4 separate regions of the Homo sapiens genome follow, and all the other regions are linked to region 1. Evidence: promoter capture Hi-C in 16 types of primary human blood cells and fetal thymus (Javierre and others, 2016). All regions are on one chromosome and are shown on one strand. The core of a region is centred on a gene start or on the middle of the fragment in contact, and the rest is flanking DNA. Distances in the headings are between cores, read along the strand shown.

Region 1 (3,125 bases), core at 413-2,912:
CACATACCCTCGTGTGCCAGTGTGCAGAGAAGGGGTCCTGGCTCCACTCTGCTTTGTTCCTTTAGGTTTCCTGGAGGCCCAGCAGGGCCTGGAGGGGCCTGTGCTTTCTCAGCCTTTCCCACTTCCCCAATGTGCTGGATACATGAGATCATGGTCTAATGTGACTAGAGCAAGCGACCAGAGGACACTGGCTTGTAGAACGATGCGGAAATGGAGACAGACACTTCGAAAGGTGAGCATCACTTTCAGAAAATGCATTGTGAAGTGCTGCAAATACATCACATGCTGAGAGAATTCAGAAGACGGGAGAGTCCCTGGAGTTGGGGAGGAGGTGAGATCAGAGCTGCACTTTGGGGAATAAGAAGGGTTGGAACCAAAAGCAGAAGAATGAGCTTTTGACTTAAAAGCCAGAGGCTGGGCATGGTGTGGGGTTCGGGGAAAGCGGGAGCAAGAGGTGTGGGGGGACAAGTGGCCTGGAGGAGGCAAGGCTGCCAGGGAGACGGTAACAGGAAATGAGGTTAGAAGCCTGATCAGGCCTCTGGAAGAGAGGCCGGGAGTGCCTTCCCCGTCCCCACCCTACCTCCAGGGAGGCCCTCTCCAGAGCCGTCTGGGGAGCTCGTTGGAACACAGACTTCGGGCTACTGAGGCAGGAACCTGGGTGGGTCATGGACTCCGGATTTTCACAGGCTCTGCAGGCAACTTTACGCCCAAATGTCTGAGCACCACTCTCGCAAGAGTGGGAACACTGACTTTGGAGTTAATTTTGAATTGAAATCGGGACTTCTCTCAATGCTTCACTTTGGCCACGCCTCCCTCCTTCTAGTAAAATGGGACAGAGCAACAAGACCCAACTTGCTGGGTGGTGGCGAGCATTAGAGTCGAAAATGTCTGTTCCCCGGGGAGAGGGGGTTCCCTCCTCCCAGCACCGCCCCCCCACCCCCCCTCCCCCGACTCCCGCTCTCCACGCCCTTACCTGGATAAAGACTTGGAGCGCGGTGCGGCTCACCAGCACCGTGCACACTCGCGAGGCGGGCTCCGGCTCCCCGTCCGCCGTCTCGAGTTCGTGCTTCTGCCCCATGATGACGGCCATGGGCAGGGCGAGGCCGAGCGAGGCGGCCCACGAGAGCGCCACCAGCCACCGGGTCCGGCGTGGCGTCAGCAGGCTGCGGGCACGCAGGGGCTGGCACACGGCTAGGCAGCGCTCGGCGCTCAGGCCTGCCACGCTCAGCACCGTGGCGTAGGCGCACAGCTCGTGCACGAAGTAGTAGCCGCGGCAGCCCAGGTCGCCGAAGACCCAGGGGTAGTGGAACCACACGAAGCTGTAGAGCTCCACCGGCACGCCGACCAGCAGCAGCAGCAGGCCCGCGAGCGCCAGGCTGAGCACGTGGTGGCGCAGGCGCCCCGCGCGCCCGGCCCGCGCCTTCAGCACCACGTGCGCGGACAGCGCATTGCCCGCCGCGCCCAGCGCCCAGATGAGTGCGTAGAGCGCGGTGAACAGCACCTTGGCCCAGAGGCGAGTGTCCACGCCCAGCCGGGCGTCCAGGCTCAGCCCCGGGTTGGAGCTGGGCCGCGGGGGCCGCGGGCTGCTGGTTTCCATCCCGCTCCCGCGGCCGGCGCTCCCTCCCTCTCACTGCCCGGAGTCTGGGCGAGCTGCCTGGTTAGTGAGCACCTCCTCTTCTCTGGGAACCTCTAGAACTGGGAGGACACGCCCCCGAAAGGGTGTCCCTGAGCCAACGTGGGACCGCGAGTGCCAGCCCGTTAGCGTCGGTCACACGTCTGGGTTCAGTTCAACCCAGGGAAGCGCGTGCTGGTGGAAAGGGGGTTGGGTTCCTTCAGGGGCTGATAGTCCCGAGTTGGGCCGAACTCCACCACTTTCGAACTTTGTGAACTTGGGCAAGTTTTTTAACCTCTCTGAATCTGGTTTTGCAACTTTATTATCGACACTGCAGAATTTCTGGGAAGATGAAATGAGCGAACGTGTGTGTGGAAGTTTCTACCTGCAGCATAAATAGACATGGTGCTTTCGTCTTGCGCCTTGGCCCTTGTGTTGATTTGTGTGTGTGTGCAGCTCGGGAGAGATCTTGGGAAAGACTTTCCCAGCACTTCAGCATTTTGTTATTGTTCTTGCTAAAGGGCTGTTTCAATGCCATCCTAAGAGCCCCAGGAAGCTCCTTTGTCACTGAGAATACATCCTCATGGTGCCACACTTTCCCAGTCCTTTGAGAGTGTCATTCTCATGGAGCTAGGGGATGAAGTGAGAAGTGTTTTTAGCATGTTTTAAAACCTTTCACTTTTCTAAATTCATGCAGAACACCCGAACTTTAGAGCTGAAAAGCCCAGAGGCCTTCTCATTTCATCCAAGAACCCCTGGTATTTACTGAGGGGCAGAATTGAAATTGGAACCCAGGGATCCTGACTTTTTTGTCTTCAGCAAAGTTATTATGGCCCGGTGATAATCAGTTTAATCTTCCATGTGGGCATATAACCATATCTACATTGAAATTGAGATTATGTAAATATACTTTTACTCTGCACAATAAATTTATTGAAATTATAAGCATTTATTGAACGACAAGAATCATTAACAACCAGGGCTGGATTCTTAGGCATGTGACTGTGTTTTTGCATGGGGTCCCATGCTTGAAAAGGCCTTGTCCTGAGTCAAATGCTGTTGTCATCTGGGAATTCTGCATCATTTTTGAACAAGGAACCCTGCAATTTCATTTTGTATAGAGTCTTGCAAATTATGTAGCCAGTTGTAACTACAAATGAGAACATCCCACAAAGAAAGTAAATTGAGCAGAAGTGGTTAGACATATATTCAGTCTGATGTGTTTTGCAATTGAGGGACAAAGAAAGGAAGAGGGCTTTCTTTGTCAGAATATGTGATTTTTTTAATGGTTTATAGCTCCTTCCTAAATGGTATTTTGAAGTTTTAATTGTATTTATTTATTATTTATTTTGAGACAGAGTCTTGCTGTGCTGCCCAGGCTGGAGTGCAGTGGCACAATTTCTGTTCACGGCAACCTCTGCCTTGAGGGTTCAAGCGATTCTCGTGTCTCAGCCATTCAAGTAGCTGGGATTACAGGTGTACACCATCATGACTGGCTATTTTTTTGTTATTT
Region 2 (3,125 bases), core at 416-2,915, 1.4 Mb after region 1:
AGGGATAACTGACCTCTAATATGTTGTGCAAATGCCGCTGGGTTTCTGATGAGGACTGCTCTTATCTGTAAAGCTGCTAACCCCTGAGTCTTGAAGAACAAAGATAAACACCAGCCGCCAGTCTTCTGACTGTACAACAAGTTGGCCTGGACAATCAAAACTCCTTCTTAACTGGTTCCATTGATGCTTTGTCCCTAAAGTCAGGAAGTACCTTCCTAGTAAGGGATTGCCTTTTAAAGCTTTTGATAATAGATCATGCTTCTTGCCATCCAGAAGCCCTAGAGGTCAACACTGAAATCACTGAAGTGATCTACTTGTCCCTAAACACAGTGTTTCTAATTCAGCCTCTAGATCGGGAGGTCAGAAGGACTGTTAATGCTCATTACACATGGTACTCTATGGAAAGGATTGTCAATGCTGTGGAAGGGAACACTGATAGAGAAAACATTATGAATGTCTAGAAGGGTCACACCATTGAAAATGCCATTATTGCTATGGAAAAATTCATGAAAGCCATCAAGCCCAAAACAATACATTTCTATGGGAGAAAACTGGGTCCAGGTGTTGTGAATGACTTCACTGGGTTTACAACAGAGCCAATCAAAGAAATAATGAAAGAGATTATGCATATGGCAAAAAAAAAAAAGGTGGGTGTGAAGGGTTTCAAGGTATAAGTCTTGAGAGAAATTCAAAAGTGAAAAGATACCACACTGGAGGAATTAACAGAAGACAACTTGGATGGAGTTGAGTGCTTCTGAACCAGTATCAGATGATGAGGAGGGAGATGGAAAAAACAGTGCAGAAAACAAATTGTTATTAGACAATCTGGAAGAATCATTCTGATTATTCAAGACTACTTTGAAATGCTTTTACAGCATAGATAGACCCTTGTAGGATATGGGCACTGAGACTACAACAAATGGTGGGGGAAGAATTGGTACCATATAGAAATATTTGTAGATAAATTAAAAAGCAAAAATGTTGACAGAAATTATGATGTATTTCCATAAAGTTACACCACGTGCCTCTCTCTCCTGTCTCTTCCTTCTACCTCTTCAGCCTCTACCAGTTCTAAGACAGCAAGACCAAAACCTCTCTTCCTTTTTCTCAGCCTAGTCAACGTGAAGATGAGAATATAGACTTTCATGATGATCCACTTTCACTTAATAAATAGTAAATATATTTTCTCTTCCTTATAATTTTCTTAATAACATTTTCTTTTCTCTAGCTAACTTTACTGTAAGACTATAGTACGTAATACATCTAACATACAAAATACATGGTAATAAAGTGTTTATGTTTTCGGTACGGCTTCTTGTCAGCAGTAGTCTATTAGTAGTTAAGTTTGGGGGAAGTCAAAAGCTATACATCAATTTGTGACTATGGAGGAAGTTGGTTCCCCCTAACCTCATGTTGTTTATGGGTCTACTGTAATAAATCATCACCAGCAAAATTGTTCTGCATGAAAAGTATTTTCTATGTGTGCATGTGTTACATGTATATGTGCATGTACATATGTTTATATATATATTTATACACACACATATCTTGTGAAAGACTCATATTCAAAACATAAAGCTTCCAACACATCACCAATGTAAAGAAAATAAAACAATTAAATCGGCAATAGCTTGCAACTGATAATAAAGGAAGGTATGAGTGGTCAGCAGGTTATTTAAATTTGTTCAACATCATTAGTCATTGGATAAAATTAAATTAAAACTAAAAGAAGATACCATTTTACACTTACTAGAAAGCTTTACATTACAAAGGCGAAGCTAGTTGAAAGTTTGAACCATGCAAACTCTGACTTACATGCAGTAACCCTCATGCCAGCTCTACTCCTCAAAAAGCATCGACCCCCAAACCGGTCACCCCTCCTTGTTTTCTCAAGTCATTTGCTGATCGGGTTTGGAGCCTGCTGTGCTACCCTGTTGCAGGAGTGGGGGATCCATCTCCCACATCTCACATCTCTGATTTGGCTACAACACAAACAATACTAAATGTTGCAAATATGTGCAGCAGCTGGACACCCGCATATTCCTGCTGGGTGTGTATCATGGGATAAGCACTATGGAAGAAATGTCAACAGTTTCTTATCAAGTCCATGCATTCACCTCCCTTAATCCTCAGCGTTGTCCCTCCTAGATATTTTTCTAAGATATATTAAAATAAGTGTCCCAAAAAGACTTATTTAAGAATGTTCATAGCAATTTGATTCATTATAGCCCAAAACTGGAAATAACACAAATATCCATCAATAGTACAATAAATAAACAAATAGTGGTATATTCATAGAATTGAAAATGAATAAAAGGAGTGAAGATATACACAACTACATGGTTGGGTTTCAGAAACATTATATAGAGAGCAAGAAACTAGACATAAAAACACATATCGCAATTCTGTTTATCTGAAGATCAAAAATAGGCAATGCAGAAATCAGAAGGTGACTGCCTCTCTTGTGAGGCAGGCAGCTAGAATTGCCTGGTGAGTGGTCCAAGGGAATTGTTGTCATGGTGGAAAACTCTGTATCTTTTATCTATTCTTTTGGAGTTACATGAAAGTATGAAATTTCAAAACACATTCATCTGAACATTTAAAATAGGTACAGTTTTGTATATAGAAATTATACCCCAATTTAAAGCAGTGAAAAAGAGCTAACACACTACATATTGGGATAATTAATATATTAAATTTGCTAACAGGTTCCCCTTTATGTAGTACGTGTGTAATTGCTTCAAAGGCATCTCATTGCGAAGGACATAATGGTGTAAGTTAGGAATTCAATTTAAAGCCCTGTTTGCTATATGAAGATACTGGGCTCAGAAATGCAACTAACTTCCTCACTTTATGCCTCTACTAAGCAGTATCACTAGAAAGAGAATTGTATTCTTTCAGCTTCAATCTCAAGAGGCTACCCTCCCCCCCACTGTGGGATGTGCACCATGTGATATTTTCTGGATATATCTGTATCTTTGTGTGACTTTGAGAGTTGATGAGTGAAGGGCGTGAATTCTTTCTACAGACACTAGTAGTTAAGTCTCTTCACTGACTAGCCAGCAAGCACGAGCATCAAAAAGCTAATGGAGTCTTAGAGTATGATGTAATGATTTATGTGACAA
Region 3 (3,125 bases), core at 283-2,782, 1.3 Mb after region 1:
GCCCCAACATAGTAAAACCCTGTCTTTACTAAAAATACAAAAAAAAAAAAAAAATTAGCCAGGCACGGCGGCAGGTGCCTGTAATCCCAGCTACTCAGGAGGCTGAGGCGAGAGAATTGCTTGAACCTGGGAAGTGGAGATCTCACCACTGCACTCCAGCCAGAAGCCAGAGCTGGAGCTTTTAAAAAAAAAAAAAAAAAAGAAAAGAAAATCATGTTGCTTACCCTATTGAGAGATTAATCAAAAGTGGCTGGAAAGAGATATAAAAATAAATTTCAAAAGTCAGATTCTGAAGATATTTAAGATCAAAACAAGATGGTTAGGATGGAAGGAAAAGCAACGCTGGAAAGAGTGGCTGAGATATTTCCATGAAGTGAAAGTGTGTTTTCCTCAGAATTCTCTAGTTTCTGCTGGGGGTAGGATAAGAGTTAATGAGAGCTCTGAGATGACCAGGATAACACCAACAGAAAGTGACAGAGTTTTTCTGCTCTCTTTATAAACATGAAATAAATCCTCAAAATCTAAAAGGAGAAAACGTCCTCAAGTACTAACATTGCTTTTGCTGTCACATTTGTCCTGGCTTTGCAGAGGTTAAAAAGATTATTGCATAGCAGCTTCCAAGCATGGAAAAAGGAGGTAATCAAATTGGACCACAGCCCAGGGAAACTGTGAGGTCTTACTGAGCACTGCGTGCCAGTGGAAAGAAGCATTTTGAAAGGTAAACTGGTGGGGGCGATGGGGTTCAGATATTCTCTGAGACCGGGAACGTCACTGCTCTCCCCGGGAAGCTGCTTTAGGCACAGTGCTCCTGCCTGACTCGGGAAGACTGCTCTCCTGGCCTCCTGGAAGTCATATGGGAAACAGGTACGCCTCCTCATGTTGCATCTTTATTCTAAGCTCACCAGCCATCCGTATAAGATTTCAGAAATCCAGGCAGACCAGAGTCACTCCCTGAACATGGGCCATGAAACAGCATAAGGAGTGGAAAGAGACTGTGATGGGAATCAGAGGACCTTAACTGAAGTTCATGACAATCAGGTCTGGCCAGTGGCCAGTCGCTTGACCATACTGAGCTTCAGCTGTTCTGTCACTGAAATGGTTACAGGGGATTCCTCAATAGCAGGGATAGTGTTCTATCCCATGTGTCTTCATGCACAGTGTAAGTGCTTCGTAAAAGTCGATAGAATAAACAAAAAGAAAACAAAGCAAGTACATGACCATATACAACACATTTTCATCGATGCTTAAATTACAATGAAATTATTTATAAAAACTTTTAATAAAATTATGACATTCACATTCTTACTATAAGTCAGTAACTGATTAAACTTGTTTCTGAACAAGGCAGATTCCATGGAGGAAATATCTGTCTACTCGACTACTTATTCTTATGTAAGCCTTGTCTTCCTGTAGAATTACTTAAATCAGACTCACCAGCTCTAGCTGTGTGGCAGGAAACAGGTGCAAGCACTCTGAGTTGGATTCAGATCATCTAGGAATTGGAGCTTCTAGCTGAAGAGTAAATCTGTGTGCATGCTCTTGACACATCCTTCCCCATCTGACAAGTTTTCCTGTCTTCTTCGGTGAGCTTTGAGACAGACAACCAGTGATGGAGGAAGAGGAAGTGTGACAGGTTCCACCTCCCCTTATAATCTATAGCATATCAGGTTCACAGCCATATCACCCAACAACCTGTATAACTAAAATAACACATAGGCTCTGCTCCCAAATATTGGTGAGATAAATATACACACATGAATAAAAATATATATTAATTAGTAAAGAAATGCCAGGCAAAAGACAATGATGGCCTACAAATGTTTGGGACAAAATGTATGTGCTGTGTGTTTGGAGGCAGAGGAGAGTAGAAGACTGGGTTGTCAATAAATGCTTCTGAGATGCTTCAGACTTACTACAGGTATCGACTGATGCTTTGTGTTGGGAAAAATAATACTTGAAAATAATTCTGGGGGCCTTGAGCAGGTGAAAAAGCATAAATGAATGTATAGCACATGCAGGGTGTGGTTGGTCACCAGGTGAGAAATTACATAAGGAGAAGAGTTGTTGATGAGAAAGAGCAGATCAGGTGGGATCAGAATGTCATGTTTTTGTCAGTAATAGGTAGATAGTGATTGATGGCTTTTCAGCAGAGACATAGTATGATCACATTAATGTTTTAGAAAAATACTTTCAGTTACAGTGCTAGGAAAAGGATTGCACAGAGAAAGAATAGAAGTAGGAAATGAATATAGTTGTGGTATGTAACCTACCTAAGCTCTGGAATTTATTCTTGGACCAAAACATCCTTGGGATCCAAATGGCCAGGTCAAGAAACATGGTTAAAACATCCTTGTTCATGTTATGAAACAGCTGCTCAGCAATCCCAATGATGGACCAGAGTCATTGCTGGAAGGAGCCTCAGTGGTGATGTTTAGGAAATTTCTTTGCAAACGGTCTGTTTAGCAGTGACAAGGGGCATGATACCGTGAACAAGGATGGCTGTTTGCGAAGTTGTCTAAAAAGGTGACTTTCAGGGTCTGGGAAAAGTTCCTCTAACTCCGGAGTGAATCAGCTGGGTCATATGGTCATCTGCCAGACCACGCTGGTCTACTGTTGACACAGACAGGTGCACTCAGAGCTGACTAGAATATATGTGTTTTGCTGTAGTCCTTTGGTGGGTATATAAACACAGCTTGTGCCTGCCTCTTCCTTTGCTATTTCTCATACATGGTTTTGGCTCCAGGTATCTTTTGAATGAATAAACTGGGTCAAATGAAGGGTATATTGCTGCAATCTGTTAAAGAAAAGCAAATCCTAGTGCCAAGATCAGAAGAAAGTTCTCCTGGGGAGTGAGCCAATGTCACTGTCTTTGCTTGGAGAAATGTGGCCAATAATTATATCCAAGCAGTAAAATAGAACTTTTTTCCTTCCTCCAGCTGGCAGAGGGATTTGGACCACATCTGTTAAATATTTATCAGTAGCAGATACTAGTTTATCTTAGTTTTATTTTCTTGCAGAGATCACCAGGATTTTTATCTCATTAAGCTAGATGGTATCAGTGAGACCTCATTTCTTTTATGGAGACTGGTGTGAGTTGTAGACAGGAGCTAAAGAAAGACTAACCC
Region 4 (3,125 bases), core at 413-2,912, 1.3 Mb after region 1:
GGGATGGGCTTGTTTCAGCCAGCCAGCTTCTAAGAAGTTTCCAGTGAGATCGAACTGCTCCTTCCCCTACATTTTCAGGGCATTCTATTTAGTATGCACCTTTCCCCCTTCCTCCACCCCACCACATTCTCATCACAGTTCTGTGTGTCAGAATGATGTTTATCCCTAAGGCTATTTATGGGCATGACTGGATTTTATCTTAGCTTCCTTGAAGTGGCCCAGTCAAGTGAAATGAGTCTGCATTTTAAACAAAATAATGTGCTTCTTTCTAAAACAAGATTTTTTAATCTATAAAATATAGCTCATAAAACCCTTTTCACACATAATCTATGCTAAGTAATATCTTTTTCTTTATTGTCTATTTCATTCCTCCCTCCTGGTGGGCACACCATGAGAGAGTTCCTTGAACGGGTGTGTCAACTGTTTCCCAGTGGCAATAGGGCCGTTCTGCCTGTTACTGCAAAAAATGAGGTAGAGTTCCCATATCTTGGAGGATATATCTCTTCATGGGAAGAGAAAAATCCTAGCTCTGCATTCCAGCTCATGGGCTGTGTGCACCAGCTATTTTGGGGAAGGGGAAAGCCAGTCTCACAACACTTTCCCCAGAGAAAAGATGCCAATCTCAACATTAACCATTAGGAAACATCATTAAAGCAGATGAGAAATGGGCTGCGGACATTTTTATGAGCCCAAAATACTCTACTTGGAGGTTTTATGGAGACCACAGGAAGCCAGAGAGACAATGACATCCATACCCTTTTTTTAGAGTCTGCTGAGCTGAGGAACAATCTCTGTGCTCCATAGAGTGTGTTTTTGCAAGTGTAAATTACCATTGGGGGCCATGTCAAAGTAAGCCTTTTTCAGAGACTTGTGCACCTGTTGGAGATAGAATGCTCTAGGCCAAGTAGTTGTGGGCTTACTGTCCATATCCATCCAGAGTTGCAAAGAAAATACTTCCTTTTGATTCCAGGACAGTCTTGGAATTAGTCTTTAGAGAAGGCTATTCTGCTTAAATCTGCATGGTTGCAACATTGCACCAGTAATCTCTATATATTGGTTTTCTTATTTTTTCATATGACAAAATGAAGCTCAGAAAAGTTGAGAAACTTGCACACACACACAACTAGTAAGTAAAGGAATCAGAATTTGACTCTGCATGTTCTTCCTTATGGCACCACCTCCTTATCCAAGCCCAAAATGTAGATTTAAGGCAGGGACAGGAAAGAGGGTGTGCATACAGAAGTGGCCCCAAATGAGGTCTCTTGGGTCTTTATTTAGGGCAAGCTCAGCAGAGATATTTTTTTCTCTGTACATCAGGAATTGTGTTTTTAAGGCATTAAACCACACAGTGAAAATAGGAGAGAGGTGAGCAAAGTCCTGGCAGGTTGCTCTCTGCCTTCAGTAATGCAGTTGTGTGTTTTCCCGGGAGCCCTAGAAGAGGGATGGGGAAGATGGTCCAGAATAGTCCTGAATTGTAGAGCTTTCCTATTTATACTGACATCTCGTGGTAGTGCTGTGTGACTGCAATCTGCATTGTCTTGGGAGCCAAGCATTCAACTTTACCAATATTCATTTTACTCATTCGTGAATTAATTGAACCAGAAGTTGTTACTAAGCACTTGGTATTTGCCAGGCACTGTGCTAGACACTAGAGAATACTATGACATGCTCACAGAAAGATCCTGGGAAAGACCAAATTGGAAACTCTTAAAGGAGCTCAATGCTTATCAAAGCGTTAAGAACAACAACTAGTGAATGTAGGTGGCAGAGTTGGCCAGGTACTTAGTAATGGTGGTACTATGTCCTCTGCATTTATCATCCCATTGAATCTTCATAATGATCCTCACTGGTGAGTATTCTCATTCAGATTTCAGATGGAAGGAAACTAAAACTATAAGAGGTTATTTAAAACACCCTAGTTTAAAAACCTCCTAAGCAGTGAAGTTAGGATTTGAACTCTGATTTTTGAGATCTCACAGCCAGAACTATACTTCTCTGTGAACAAACAGCAAGAAGAGATTAATTCCAATGGTCAAGTGTCATTTGAAAAGGGCTTAAGTTTATTTGCACGAGATTTAGCCCATGACAATCATGGGTATCAGACTTCCCAGATGTCTACTAGTTAAATGAAACTAGGTCTGTTCAATTTAATTTAATTTAGCAACCAAAACCCTACTGCTAACATCTTTGTGCATATGTTTCAGTTGGTCTTCTTCTATAAACTCGTAAATACATGAATATATAAACAAAAAAGGGAATCATACTGTATATGCTGTTTGTAACTTTCTTATTTTGTCTAATTTATTAGCTTCCTATTGCTAAACACCAACTTATCACAAATTTAGCTGAAAACAACTCCCATTTATCTCATAGTTCTGCAGGTCAGATTTCCAGGCAGGCTCGATTGGATTCTCTGCTTAGGATCTCACAAGGACAAAGTCAAGATAATGTGCCCAGCTGGGCTCTTATCTGGAGGCCCTGGGGAAGAATCTGCTTCCAAGCTCATTCTGGTCTTGGGCAGACTTGAGTTTTTTGTCACTGCAAAACTGAGGACCTTTTTTATTCTTGCTGGGTGCTGGCCACGGACCAATTTTGCTCCTAGAGGCTCCTCTCAGGTCCTTGACAATGACCCTCTATCTCAGCAATGGACAGCCGCCTCCAGGTCAAATCTCTCCCCACTTCTAATCTCTCGAAACTTCTCTTCTACTATTATCTGGGAAAATTCCTATTTTCAAAGGGCTCTTACCATTAGGTTAGGTCTACCAAGATGACCTCCCCTATCTTAAGATCAACTGATAAGTAACCATAATGACATCTGCAAAATCCCTTTTGCTGTGTAATGTAGTATATCCTGGGAATGCCACTGGGGCAAAAGTCAAGGGGCATTTTAGAATTCTGGCTACCACGTTTAACAAACATGTTTTCAAAATGTATTTATTGACAGCGTACTTTGTGCTTGAGTCTAGGCTCTAGAGCTATGATAGTGAACAGAATACATAAAAACTGCATTCATGTAGCTGACATCTAGTGTCCTGGAAGGAGATTTTCTATATTGAGGAATATGCCTATATAACTTTTCATTTTTATAGATATGTAATTCCACTGTATAAATATACCATAATTTA

The links. Contacts are between HindIII fragments. The CHiCAGO score rates a contact against its expected background, and 5 or more counts as called.
Region 2: a fragment that was not itself captured here is called in contact with the fragment with the promoter of NTSR2 in region 1 in 4 of 17 cell types (activated CD4 T cells, total CD4 T cells, total CD8 T cells and 1 more); the score reaches 9.7 in activated CD4 T cells.
Region 3: a contact is called between a fragment that was not itself captured here and the fragment with the promoter of NTSR2 in region 1, in 1 of 17 cell types (total B cells). The highest score is 5.8, in total B cells.
Region 4: a contact is called between a fragment that was not itself captured here and the fragment with the promoter of NTSR2 in region 1, in 1 of 17 cell types (neutrophils). The highest score is 5.2, in neutrophils.

What each region holds. Positions count from the first base shown.
Region 1 is chr2:11,668,533-11,671,657 of GRCh38, forward strand. It overlaps NTSR2 (neurotensin receptor 2), which reads right to left and starts at 1,663. Exons shown (of 4, transcript NM_012344.4): 1 at 974-1,663. The coding sequence starts at 1,597. RefSeq lists an enhancer at 1,104-1,640. The HindIII fragment of the contact is 6,464 bases long and covers 1-3,125 here.
Region 2 is chr2:13,018,585-13,021,709 of GRCh38, forward strand. The region is part of intron 1 of LOC105373436 (a long non-coding RNA gene); the gene reads left to right. Among named protein-coding and RNA genes, the nearest start is that of MIR3125, 280 kb to the left of the region's middle. The HindIII fragment of the contact is 179 bases long and covers 1,577-1,755 here.
Region 3 is chr2:13,000,154-13,003,278 of GRCh38, forward strand. LOC100506474 (a long non-coding RNA gene) reads right to left here. Exons shown (of 6, transcript NR_038434.1): 3 at 2,271-2,455; 4 at 1,435-1,588. It overlaps LOC105373436 (a long non-coding RNA gene), which reads left to right and starts at 636. Exons shown (of 5, transcript XR_001739293.2): 1 at 636-864. The HindIII fragment of the contact is 4,127 bases long and covers 1-3,125 here.
Region 4 is chr2:12,929,910-12,933,034 of GRCh38, forward strand. No RefSeq gene overlaps it. Among named protein-coding and RNA genes, the nearest start is that of MIR3125, 190 kb to the left of the region's middle. The HindIII fragment of the contact is 3,999 bases long and covers 1-3,125 here.